3 separate regions of the Homo sapiens genome follow, and regions 1 and 2 are each linked to region 3. The links are contacts of gene promoters, found by promoter capture Hi-C in blood cells and fetal thymus (Javierre and others, 2016). All regions are on one chromosome and are shown on one strand. Each heading gives the region's core, a stretch centred on a gene start or on the middle of the fragment in contact. The rest is flanking DNA. Distances are from core to core; before and after follow the strand shown. Region 1 overlaps CEP85 (centrosomal protein 85). Region 2 overlaps SH3BGRL3 (SH3 domain binding glutamate rich protein like 3). Region 3 holds the start of ZNF683 (zinc finger protein 683).

Region 1 (3,266 bases), core at 510-3,009, 110 kb before region 3:
GCACTGGCTTTGCTACCTAATTAAGGCAGTATCCTGTCTCATAGAATCAGAATGTTAAGAGTGGGAAGTGCCTTAAATAAAACTAGTTAATTCTTCGAATTTACTGATTAAAGAATTGAAACCTGAGAAAGAGGAAGACCTTGCCTGAGATCATATAGAGAATGAGTGGAGGGAAGCCAGGCTTTGAGCCCAGGTCTTCTGATGTCTTGTCCTAGGTTCCTTCCAGTATACAATGGCTTAGGTATTGCTTTAAGGCAGTGGTTCTCAAATGTGAGTGTGCATCAGAATCCCTGGAGCGCTTGTTAAAATACAGATTATTGGGACCCATCCCTACAGTTTCTGGTTTGGTGGGCCTAGGAGTTAGGCTTAAGACATTGCATTGCTAACAAATTACATCATCAGGTAATGCTGATGCTGTTAACCCTAAGACCTAGTTGAGAACCACTTCTTAAAGAGATTCTTGGAGAAAAATGATATTTGACCGTGAAGTATGCTGGGAATAAGTAAAGTACATGAGACTATAAGGGTAGAGAACAGTTACATATTGAGAATCTTTCTGGCAGGAATTGCAGCGAGAAAACACTTTCTTACGTGCACAGTTTGCACAGAAGACAGAAGCCTTGAGCAGAGAAAAGATTGACCTTGAAAAGAAACTCTCTGCTTCTGAAGTTGAAGTCCAGCTCATCAGAGAGTCGCTCAAAGTGGCGTTGCAGAAGCATTCTGAGGAAGTGAAGAAACAGGAAGAAAGGGTGAGCTGAGTAGCTGATAGCCCTAGTTCACAAAGGAGTTGGCAGTCAGCTGTCTACTCTAAAGCCTAAGCTGTTTCTGGCCTGGAACTAAGAGGAGACAATTGGGTGAGATCCTCCACTGGCTTCTCACACAGAATCGTCACAGATCTCCTTTTTGCTAGAAATGGAACTCTCCTCCCTCCCTCATTTTTGCTTCATCTCCACAAAACCACAACAGTCAGAGAAAGTTGTATGATCCCTCACTGTCCCAGGTTGTGCTGTGCAATGTACCACCAGCTGGTCTGGGTAGAAAACCAACCTGAGTACTCATACCAGGTGGCACTGTTGCAAAATACACCTGTGGTATATTTGTATCATTCAGTCTGGTTTCTCACCCTTCCTAAAAAGTAGAGAAAAATTCCATGTGCATCAGGCATGGTGGCTCACGCCTGTAATCCCAGCACTTTGGGAGGCTGAAACGGGTGGATCACCTGAGGTCCAGAGTTCGAGACCAGCCTGGCCAACATGGTGAAACCCCGTCTCTACTAAAAATGCAAAAATTAGCTGGGTGTGGTGGCTGGCGCCTGTAATCTCAGCTACTTGGGAGGCTGAAGCAGGAGAATAGCTTGAACCCGGGAGACAGAGGTTGCAGTGAACCAGGATCACGCCATCATGCCATTGCACTCCAGCCTAGGTGATAGAGCAAGACTCCGTCTCAGGAAAAAAAAAAAAAATTCCATGTGCACAGCTAGTTTGGGTGTGTATATTTGCCAGTACTCTTAGAATTGCCTTAGGTTTAAAGTTATTTGGTTTTGTTGGTATCTCCCAATTCACGGCTTGCTCTAAAGCATGTGTTTTTGGGGAACCAGTTTAGTAATGTTAAAGTTCTAGACCACTTAAAACAACTAGAGCAATACTTCTCAAACTTCATTGTTTCAGAATCACTTGGGGATCTTGTTAAAAATGTACATCAGATTCATAGTTCTAGGAGGAAGCCTGAGATCCTGCCTTTCTTTTTTTTTTTTTTGAGATGGAATTTCGCTCTGGCATCTGGGCTGGAGTGCAGTGGTGCAATCTCAGCTCACTGCAACCTCAGCCTCCTGGGTTCAAGCGATTCTCCTGCTTCAGCCTCCCAAGTAGTTGGGATTACAGGCGCCTGCTACCACACCCAGCTAATTTTTGTAATTTTAGTGGAGATGGGGTTTCACCATGTTGGCCAGGCTGGTCTCGAACTCCTGACCTCAGGTGATCCACCCACCTCAGCCTCCCAAAGTGCTGGGATTACAGATGTGACCCACTGCACCCAGCTGGATTCTGCATTTCTGACAAGCTCCCAGGTGATGCTGATGTTGTTGGTACTGGAAGGACTTAAGAGGGTTTGTTAAAAAAGAAAATTTAAAGTTGAGTTAGGCTGGGCGCCGTGGCTCATGCTTGTAATCCCTGCACTTTGGGAGGCTGAGGTGGGCAGATCACCTGAGGTCAGGGGTTCGAGACCAGCCTGACCAACATGGAGAAACCCTGTCTCTACTAAAAATACAAAATTAGCTGGGCGTGGTGGCACATGCCTATAATCCCAGCTACTCAGGAGGCTGAAGCAGGAGAATCACTTTAACCCAGGAGGCGGAAGTTGCAATGAGGCAAGATCGCTCCATTGCACCCCAGCCTAGGCAACAAGAGCGAAACTCCATCTCAAAAAAATAAAAGAAAGTTGGGTTAGTGAGTTTAAAAAAATAATAATTTATATATCTGTTAGGTAATTAAATACCAATAGATTTATAATAAAACTAGTAGTTCTAAAAACAAATGAAAAAATAAAAAATTTAGTAGTTCTGGCCAGACTCAGTGGCTCATACCTATAATTCCAGCACTTTGGGAGACTGTGGCAAGAGAATTGCTTGAGCTCAGGAGTTTAAGACAAGCCTGAACAACATAGTGAGACTCTCTTAAAAAAAAAAAAAAATTTTTTTTTTCCCTAAAATCAAGTTTATTACTCAGAGCAAAAGTTGCCCATATAATACGTTGCTCTTCAATTTTTATTTCTGCATGGTTATACAGTCTGAATGACTAGTTTACAATCCCAGGTGGTATTATAAGTTTTGCTTTTACTGGCCAGGCATGGTGGCTCACACCTGTAATCCCAGCATATGGGGAGGCCAAGGCAGGCGAATCACTTGAGGTCAGGAGTTCGAGACCAGTCTGGCCAACATGGTGAAACCCTCTCTGTACTAAAAAAAATACAAAAATGGCCAGGCACGATGGCTTACACCTGTAATCCCAACACTTTGGGAGGCTGAGGAGGGCAGATCACAAGGTCAGGAGATCAAGAACATCCTGGCCAACATGGTGAAACCCCATCTCTACTAAAAATACAAAAAATTAGCTGGGGGTGGTGGCGCACGCCTATAGTCCCAGCTACTTGGGAGGCTGAGGCAGGAGAATCACTTGAACACAGGAGGCGGAGGTTGCAGTGAGCCAAGATCACACCACTGCACTTCCAGCCTGGCAACAGAGCAAGACTCTGTCTCAAAAAAAAACAAA
Region 2 (3,417 bases), core at 69-2,568, 91 kb before region 3:
CGAAGTAAGTGCGCGCCCGGACTGGCGCTGGGGGAAAGCGCAGGGCTGTATCCCGGTGCTTTGGACCCTAGCGCCCGGGACCCACCCCCAGGACGGGGGCGGGGTGGGGGGAGTGCGTCGGCGAGGTGCTGGGCACGGTCTCCCGGACCCGGTCCCGAGGCCCCATCCTGAATGTCTTCATCGGGCATCCTGGGTCCTTTGCAGCCGCGGCATGAACTTCCCGTGCCCATCCCCCATCAACCCCACACCCATTCTCTGCACTCCCACTACCGGGCTGACCCTGACCACGACCGCAGCCTGCCCTCCCCTCCCCTCCCCACCCTGAGCCTGATCCCACTTCCCTTCACTCTGACCCCCTCCCCCGTGGCTGATAATCCCTCTCTTCATCCTGCACCACCTCAAGCCTGACTCATCCTCCCAACTCCTAGAGGCCAGAACCCTCCCCTAGTGTGGAGGGGAATGGGGGGACAAAAGCTCCTGGTCACAGCCTCTCTCACCCTGCCCAGCATTTCCCCCATAAATCCTCCAGCCTATCCACTAACCCCTACCCACCCTCTGTCCCCAGATCAAGTCCCAGCAGAGCGAGGTGACCCGAATCCTGGATGGGAAGCGCATCCAATACCAGCTAGTGGACATCTCCCAGGACAACGCCCTGAGGGATGAGATGCGAGCCTTGGCAGGCAACCCCAAGGCCACCCCACCCCAGATTGTCAACGGGGACCAGTACTGTGGGGTATGGGCTGGGGGACGGGGGGGTGGGGGGAGTGTTGGAAGAGGACTCTAGCCAGGGTCATATCTGCCACAAAGCACTTGGGCCCCCTGCATTCAGGTGACCACCCCTCGCCTCCCCTTCTCCAGGACTATGAGCTCTTCGTGGAGGCTGTGGAACAAAACACGCTGCAGGAGTTCCTGAAGCTGGCTTGAGTCAAGCCTGTCCAGAGTTCCCCTGCTGGACTCCATCACCACACTCCCCCCAGCCTTCACCTGGCCATGAAGGACCTTTTGACCAACTCCCTGTCATTCCTAACCTAACCTTAGAGTCCCTCCCCCAATGCAGGCCACTTCTCCTCCCTCCTCTCTAAATGTAGTCCCCTCTCCTCCATCTAAAGGCAACATTCCTTACCCATTAGTCTCAGAAATTGTCTTAAGCAACAGCCCCAAATGCTGGCTGCCCCCAGCCAAGCATTGGGGCCGCCATCCTGCCTGGCACTGGCTGATGGGCACCTCTGTTGGTTCCATCAGCCAGAGCTCTGCCAAAGGCCCCGCAGTCCCTCTCCCAGGAGGACCCTAGAGGCAATTAAATGATGTCCTGTTCCATTGGCACTGTGTCTGGTTGGTTGTGGCCTGGGCCTCCTGGGTCCCTGCCCTGGGCAAGGTTGGTAGTTGTGACTGTGCTGAGACTGCTCTGTGGGAAGGGTGGCTGAGCTGTTCTCTTGTGACTGTCACCTCTGTGTTTGTTAGTGCATGTGTTTGGATATGTCTGACACACAAATACCTGTATGGACCAGTGGTTTCTGGAGATGTCTGGGTGGGCCACCCTCCAGTTCACATGCATGTGTCCATATCATGCTTGTGCCTTGGTGTGTAGTGCACATCTCCATGCCTGTCAGTGAGTGTGGCCATCCCATGCGCCTGTGTTGGAGCACAATGGCTAAGAATGAGTGTATCATGGGAGGTGGGTACCCAGCTGCAGTTCTGCTAATTTGGGGGCATGGGTCTAGTGGCAAAATGGCTTTGTGCGGTGTTGAAGTGTCCCCACGAGTTGGTGGGTCTGTGCCTGTGCACAGGTATCTGCTGGCTGCACACATACACAGTGAGGCTCTGCTGTCCCAGCTGAGAATGTAAACCCAGCTGGGGCCAGCTCCTTCCCCCCACTGCATCCCTCCCTTCACAGGATCCACTTAGCCCTTCTTGGGAGAAAGAGGAACCTAGAAGACAAAGACCCAGCAGCCAGGCCCGCCAGCCGGGGCTCGAGTTACCAAGGGGCGGGTCGGCACCGCCCCCTCCCTGGCCCAGCTGGTCCCAGGCCTTTCCTACGTGCCTGGCGAGATGGCCCACCCAAGAGCCTGGCGGAGCAGCGGGTTGAGGGGGCGGGTGCTTTATTGGGGGCTGGGACTGGGTCCAGGACAGGGACTGGGGCCGGGACCGGGACCGGGACTGGGGCCGGGACCGGGACCGGGACTGGGGCCGGGACCGGGACCGGGACAGGGACCAGGACTGAATTTCAGGCTGGACTTCGGGGCTCGGCGTGCCCGCAGCAGCAGTGCTGCTTTGGGCACAAGGCCTGCAGCCTGCAGCGTGAGTGTATCGTCCTGGTAGAGGGTGGGCGGGAATGTGCTGAAGATCTCAAAGGCAGAGGCATCCATGACCCTGGGGACCAGGCAGAGCAGATCAGGCTGGGCAGTGGGACCAGAGCCCCTCTGTGGCCCTGGCCCTGCCCTGCACCCACCTGGCCTGCGCTAGCAGAGCTCGCACGTCCCCAATGGTGTTGTCAGGCTGCATCATCAGTAGGAAGGCCTGTTCCCCATTCTCAGACTTGATGCGCAGCATGGAGAGCGGGGGTGCCGGCGTGTTGGGTGACTCCTGGCTCCTGCACAGCCCAGAGGCCATCAGCACGCGGTGACCCAACGCCCCCAGGCCCTCACCTCCTCATCCCGCCCTCACCTCTCTCGCTCAGCGGCCAAGGTGGGCGTCTCCACCACAATCTCCTGGATCCGGGCAGGCAATGGGCAGCAGTTCTGGAAGGTATCAGTGGAGGGTGGACAGAGCCCTAGGCCCCATTTGAGTCATCCCCACAAACCTTAGAGGGACACTTCCTTGACCAGGGACAGATGAGACCAGTGAGCAAAGCGGGAGGGGGTGTTCTGTATAAACCAAGGCCAGAGGAGAGGCAATGGAAGGGGAAGAAGGTTCTGGGAGGCAGCCCCATGGTTCCCCCCAGGTAACCCCCCGTTTCAGTCTAATGGAGACAGAACCCCACACAGACGATGATCAGGCTGGAAGCCCACCCCAGCCTGGGGTCAGGGAAGGCTTCCCTCGGAAAATGACAACTGAGCTGTGACTGAAGGATGAATGGGAGTCCTTAGAAATGGAATGGATGCAGGGATATTCCAGACAGCATCAACAAAGATCCTGGGTTCAGGGAAAGCTTCCTAGAGGTGGCGACACATTTGGGCAACTGCCAGCATTATGTGTGGCTGAAGCTGGGGCTCAATTGGACTGGAAGGAAAAGGTTGGTGTGAGGAGGGGCCTGGCAATATAGGACGGGCCTTGAGTGCCAGCATAAGGAACCTGGCTTTATCTCAAGAACCACTGGAACATTTCAACAGGGAAGGCAGCCTGGAGGATGGTCAGCAGGGGCAGGAGTGGCAGTGGGAGGCAGCTGTCTGGGAGAGACACTCTGAACCCTAGACTAGG
Region 3 (3,420 bases), core at 488-2,987:
AGAGTAGGGCTCAAAGGCTGAACAGGGGAGCCTTCTGTGGAGGGGAGCCAAGCTGAGATGAAGATAGGCATTGATGATGACAGGGAGACAGTGATGGTGACAGGTAGGGACAGGAACAGGCAGAGACAAGAACAGGCAACATAGAAGGATATGGAATGAGACAGAGGACAGAGAAGGCAGCTGATCTCACAGAGATACAGCAAACACGTTTTCCTCCTCCAAGTCCCATCTCAGATCTCCTGACCCTGGAAAGTTCTATCCTCTAATCTAGAGGCCCCAAGAGGCAAAAGATAATTCAAGCACATGGCCAGGTGAAGTGGCTCACATCTGTAATCCCAGCACTTCAGGAGACCAAGGCAGACCCATCTCTTGAGCCCAGGAGTTTGAGATCAGCCTGGGCAACAAAGCAAGACCTCATCTCTACAAAAAATACAAAACTTAGCTGGGCATGGTGACTTGCACCTCTGGTCCCAGCTACTCAGGAGGCTGAGGCAGGAGGATCACTTGAGCCCAGGAATATAAGGCTGCAGTGAACTAGGATATTGCCACTGCACTCTAGCCTGGGTGACAGAGAAAGACCCTGTCTCTTTAAAAAAAAAAAAAATAGACATAGCAAAATGGGTGTAAGGCATGACTAGGCCAGGTGTGGTGGCTCACATCTGTAATCCCAGCACTTTGGGAGGCTGAGGTGGGCCAACTGCTTGAGCCCAGGAGTTCAAGACCAGCATGAGCAACATGGTGAAACACCATCTCTACAAAAAATACAAAAATTAGCCAGGCATGGTAGCGCATGCCTGTTGTTCCAGCTACTCAGGAGGCTGAGGTGGGAGGATCACTTGAGCCAGGGAGGTCGAGACTGCAGTGAGCTGAGATCATGCCACTGCACTCCAGCCTGGGTGACAGAGCGAGACCCTGTCTTAAAAAAAGTTAATAAATAAGGAAAAGACATGTCTAGATACAAAAAGGGAGACCTCATAGGCCAGAAAGTGGCTTTTTAGCCTGAGCAATGTCATTATTCTTGTGAGCATGAGAAGAGGCATCACCCCTGCGGCCTTACACAAATTCTGGTGTGCGTGAGTCTGGCCCAGGGTGCAAAAGCCCCAACCAGCCATCAATCTGCACCCCAGCCACGCCACCCTGGTGTCCCAGAATATACAGGGACATCTCAGGCTGTGCACCATGGGCTGGGGCATGTTCCTGGGGTTTCTCTGCCAGCTCAGCCCCTAGGGCTGTGACTCATCCTCCACATAACTGATCCCAACATGTTTGTGAGCATCTCAAGGACAGGGTCCTCTGTCTACTCATTTTGGTTTTCCATGTAGACATCTGTCAGGTTTTTTTGGACGCCCAGCCTCTGAAACTTTTCCCCTACATGAGTCTTGAGGGAGGCAAAAGGTACCTCCCATTATAAAAGCCGAAATGGCCAAATACTTAATTCCAACCTCCCTCACCAGCACTTCATGCAGGCATACATGGACTAGGTCGATCAGATGTCCCCACCCAGAAGGGGTGACCCGCACACCTTTGGCTTCCATCTGCCAGCTCTGCCCTCTCCTGGCATCACACTCTGCTCCCAACTCTCAGAACACCTTGCACAACTTCTCTGTTAGAAAAAAATAAAAACTACTTCCCCTCTATCCGCACTTCCCAACCTACTCTGGTGATCATGGGCTTTCCTTGGCTTGGGTCTCTGGTCTGGGTCAAGGCATCTGCTCAGGTTCCTCAGTTAGAAGACCATGGTCCTCCCTTTGTGCTACCTCCCCAGGGCATGTGGGACAAAGTGACATCACATTTAGGCCTGTGACATCACAGGGCATGGAGGCTGACAAGACAGATGATCTGGGAGACGAGAGCAAGGAAGGGCTTGGCAGGCAGAGGCTGCTCCATGTGGGAACCTGAGGGAGTCTGTCTTAGCCCACCTCCTGGGACATTTCCTTGCCAAGCCGAGTCTTGTGAGCATGAGAAGAGGCATAACCCCTGTGGCCTCACACAAATTCTGGTGTGCGTGAGTCTGGCCCAGGGTACAAAAGCCCCAAGCAGCCATTAATCTCCACTGCAGCCCAGTAGACTAGCAGATCAGAAGCTAGTGCCACTGGCTGAGCGCAGTGGCTCACGCCTGTAATCCCAGGACTTTGGGAGGCCGAGGCGGGCAGATCACTTGAGGTCAGGAGTTCAAGACCAGCCTGGCCAACATGGTGGGACCCCATCTCTACAAAAATACAAAAATTAGCCAAGTGTGGTGGCACGTGCCTGTATTTCCAGCTACTTGGGAGACTGAGGCAGGAGAATTGCTTGAACCCGGGAGGCGGAGGTTGCAGTGAGCTGAGATGGCTCTGCTACACTCCAGGCTGGGCAACAGAGTGAGGCTCCATCTCAAAATAAAATAAAATACAATAAAAAAAGCCACTGGTCCTGAGGTGGCAGGTCTGTGGAAACTCCTCTCTACAACAAAGGCTGTGGTACCACATCCGGCTTCCAGGGCAGTGAAGGAAAGAAGGGGGTTCAGGGGAGGCTGCAGAATCTGTGCAGGGCTGGTCCTGGGGTGTGATATTTGGCCATGGTCCTGTCTACTTCCAGCCTCCCTTGATCCATCCTATTCTCCAAGCCTTGCTCTCCAGCCTTCTCAGACCTCCTGCGAGCTTTTCTAACATCTTTTAAACAAATTCCTTCTGCTTAACTCCTCCTGAAATGGTTTTTGTAGCTTACAACTGATAATTCTGCATTATACATGCCCAGAATAGAAGATAAAGTAACAGGGTTCCAGCTGGAATTGTCCAAGGAACAGAGTAAATAGCCACCTTTACAAACAGCTTTCTTGCTGTGTCTGGCACTGTGCTAGGGGCTTCATAAACTTTATCTCATTTAGTCTTCACAATAAGCCTGTGTGGTGGATTTTATTATTAGCAGCTCATCCAGAGTCACACAACAAGTAGCCAAGAGCTCTTTAGTGGTAAACCTCAGACTCTGCCATCTCTTGGCCATGTCAGCTTCCCCCACTACGACAGCCACCCCCTCATTTCTTTCTTTCTTGCTCTCTCTTCCCACATGCTGTTCCCAGTCCTTCCCCCAACTCCTCAGTGGCCCCCTCAGTATCCTTCAGCGTAATGGAGGGGCTTAGTTCACCAAAACTCTACTCCCTAAAAGGAAGAGCCCTCTCAGACCCCCAGGCCACAAGCCCGCCTCCCCTGCTGTCTTGCTGGGAATCACAGGGAAGTGAGGGGCACCGAGTGAAGTTTCCTCCCCTCCAAGGCACTTCCCCACACACCTTTGGCTTCCATCTGCCAGCTGTGCTCCCTCCTGGCATCACACTCTGCTCCCAGCTCTCAGAACACTTTGCACAACCTCTCTGTTAGAAAAAAATAAAAAAGGAAATGGCCTTGGAGATTTCCAGGTCTCCAATCCTGAAAGCTCCCTGGCTTG

What was found. Contacts are between HindIII fragments. The CHiCAGO score rates a contact against its expected background, and 5 or more counts as called.
Region 1: a fragment that was not itself captured here is called in contact with the fragment with the promoter of ZNF683 in region 3 in 3 of 17 cell types (naive B cells, M2 macrophages and total B cells); the score reaches 7.1 in naive B cells.
Region 2: a contact is called between a fragment that was not itself captured here and the fragment with the promoter of ZNF683 in region 3, in 12 of 17 cell types (naive B cells, non-activated CD4 T cells, M2 macrophages and 9 more). The highest score is 13.6, in naive B cells.

The regions. Positions count from the first base shown.
Region 1 is chr1:26,259,054-26,262,319 of GRCh38, forward strand. CEP85 (centrosomal protein 85) reads left to right here. Exons shown (of 14, transcript NM_001319944.2): 7 at 564-749. Among named protein-coding and RNA genes, the nearest start is that of SH3BGRL3, 19 kb to the right of the region's middle. The HindIII fragment of the contact is 3,615 bases long and covers 1-3,266 here.
Region 2 is chr1:26,280,200-26,283,616 of GRCh38, forward strand. SH3BGRL3 (SH3 domain binding glutamate rich protein like 3) reads left to right here. Exons shown (of 3, transcript NM_031286.4): 1 at 1-4; 2 at 566-733; 3 at 859-1,323. The coding sequence ends at 924. It overlaps UBXN11 (UBX domain protein 11), which reads right to left. Exons shown (of 15, transcript NM_001389556.1): 13 at 2,665-2,738; 14 at 2,450-2,590; 15 at 2,083-2,370. The coding sequence ends at 2,100. Among named protein-coding and RNA genes, the nearest start is that of SH3BGRL3, 1.8 kb to the left of the region's middle. RefSeq lists enhancers at 1-295, 296-1,182 and silencers at 1-242, 1-168. The HindIII fragment of the contact is 3,655 bases long and covers 1-3,146 here.
Region 3 is chr1:26,371,013-26,374,432 of GRCh38, forward strand. It overlaps ZNF683 (zinc finger protein 683), which reads right to left and starts at 1,738. Exons shown (of 6, transcript NM_001114759.3): 1 at 1,657-1,738. The HindIII fragment of the contact is 11,410 bases long and covers 1-3,420 here.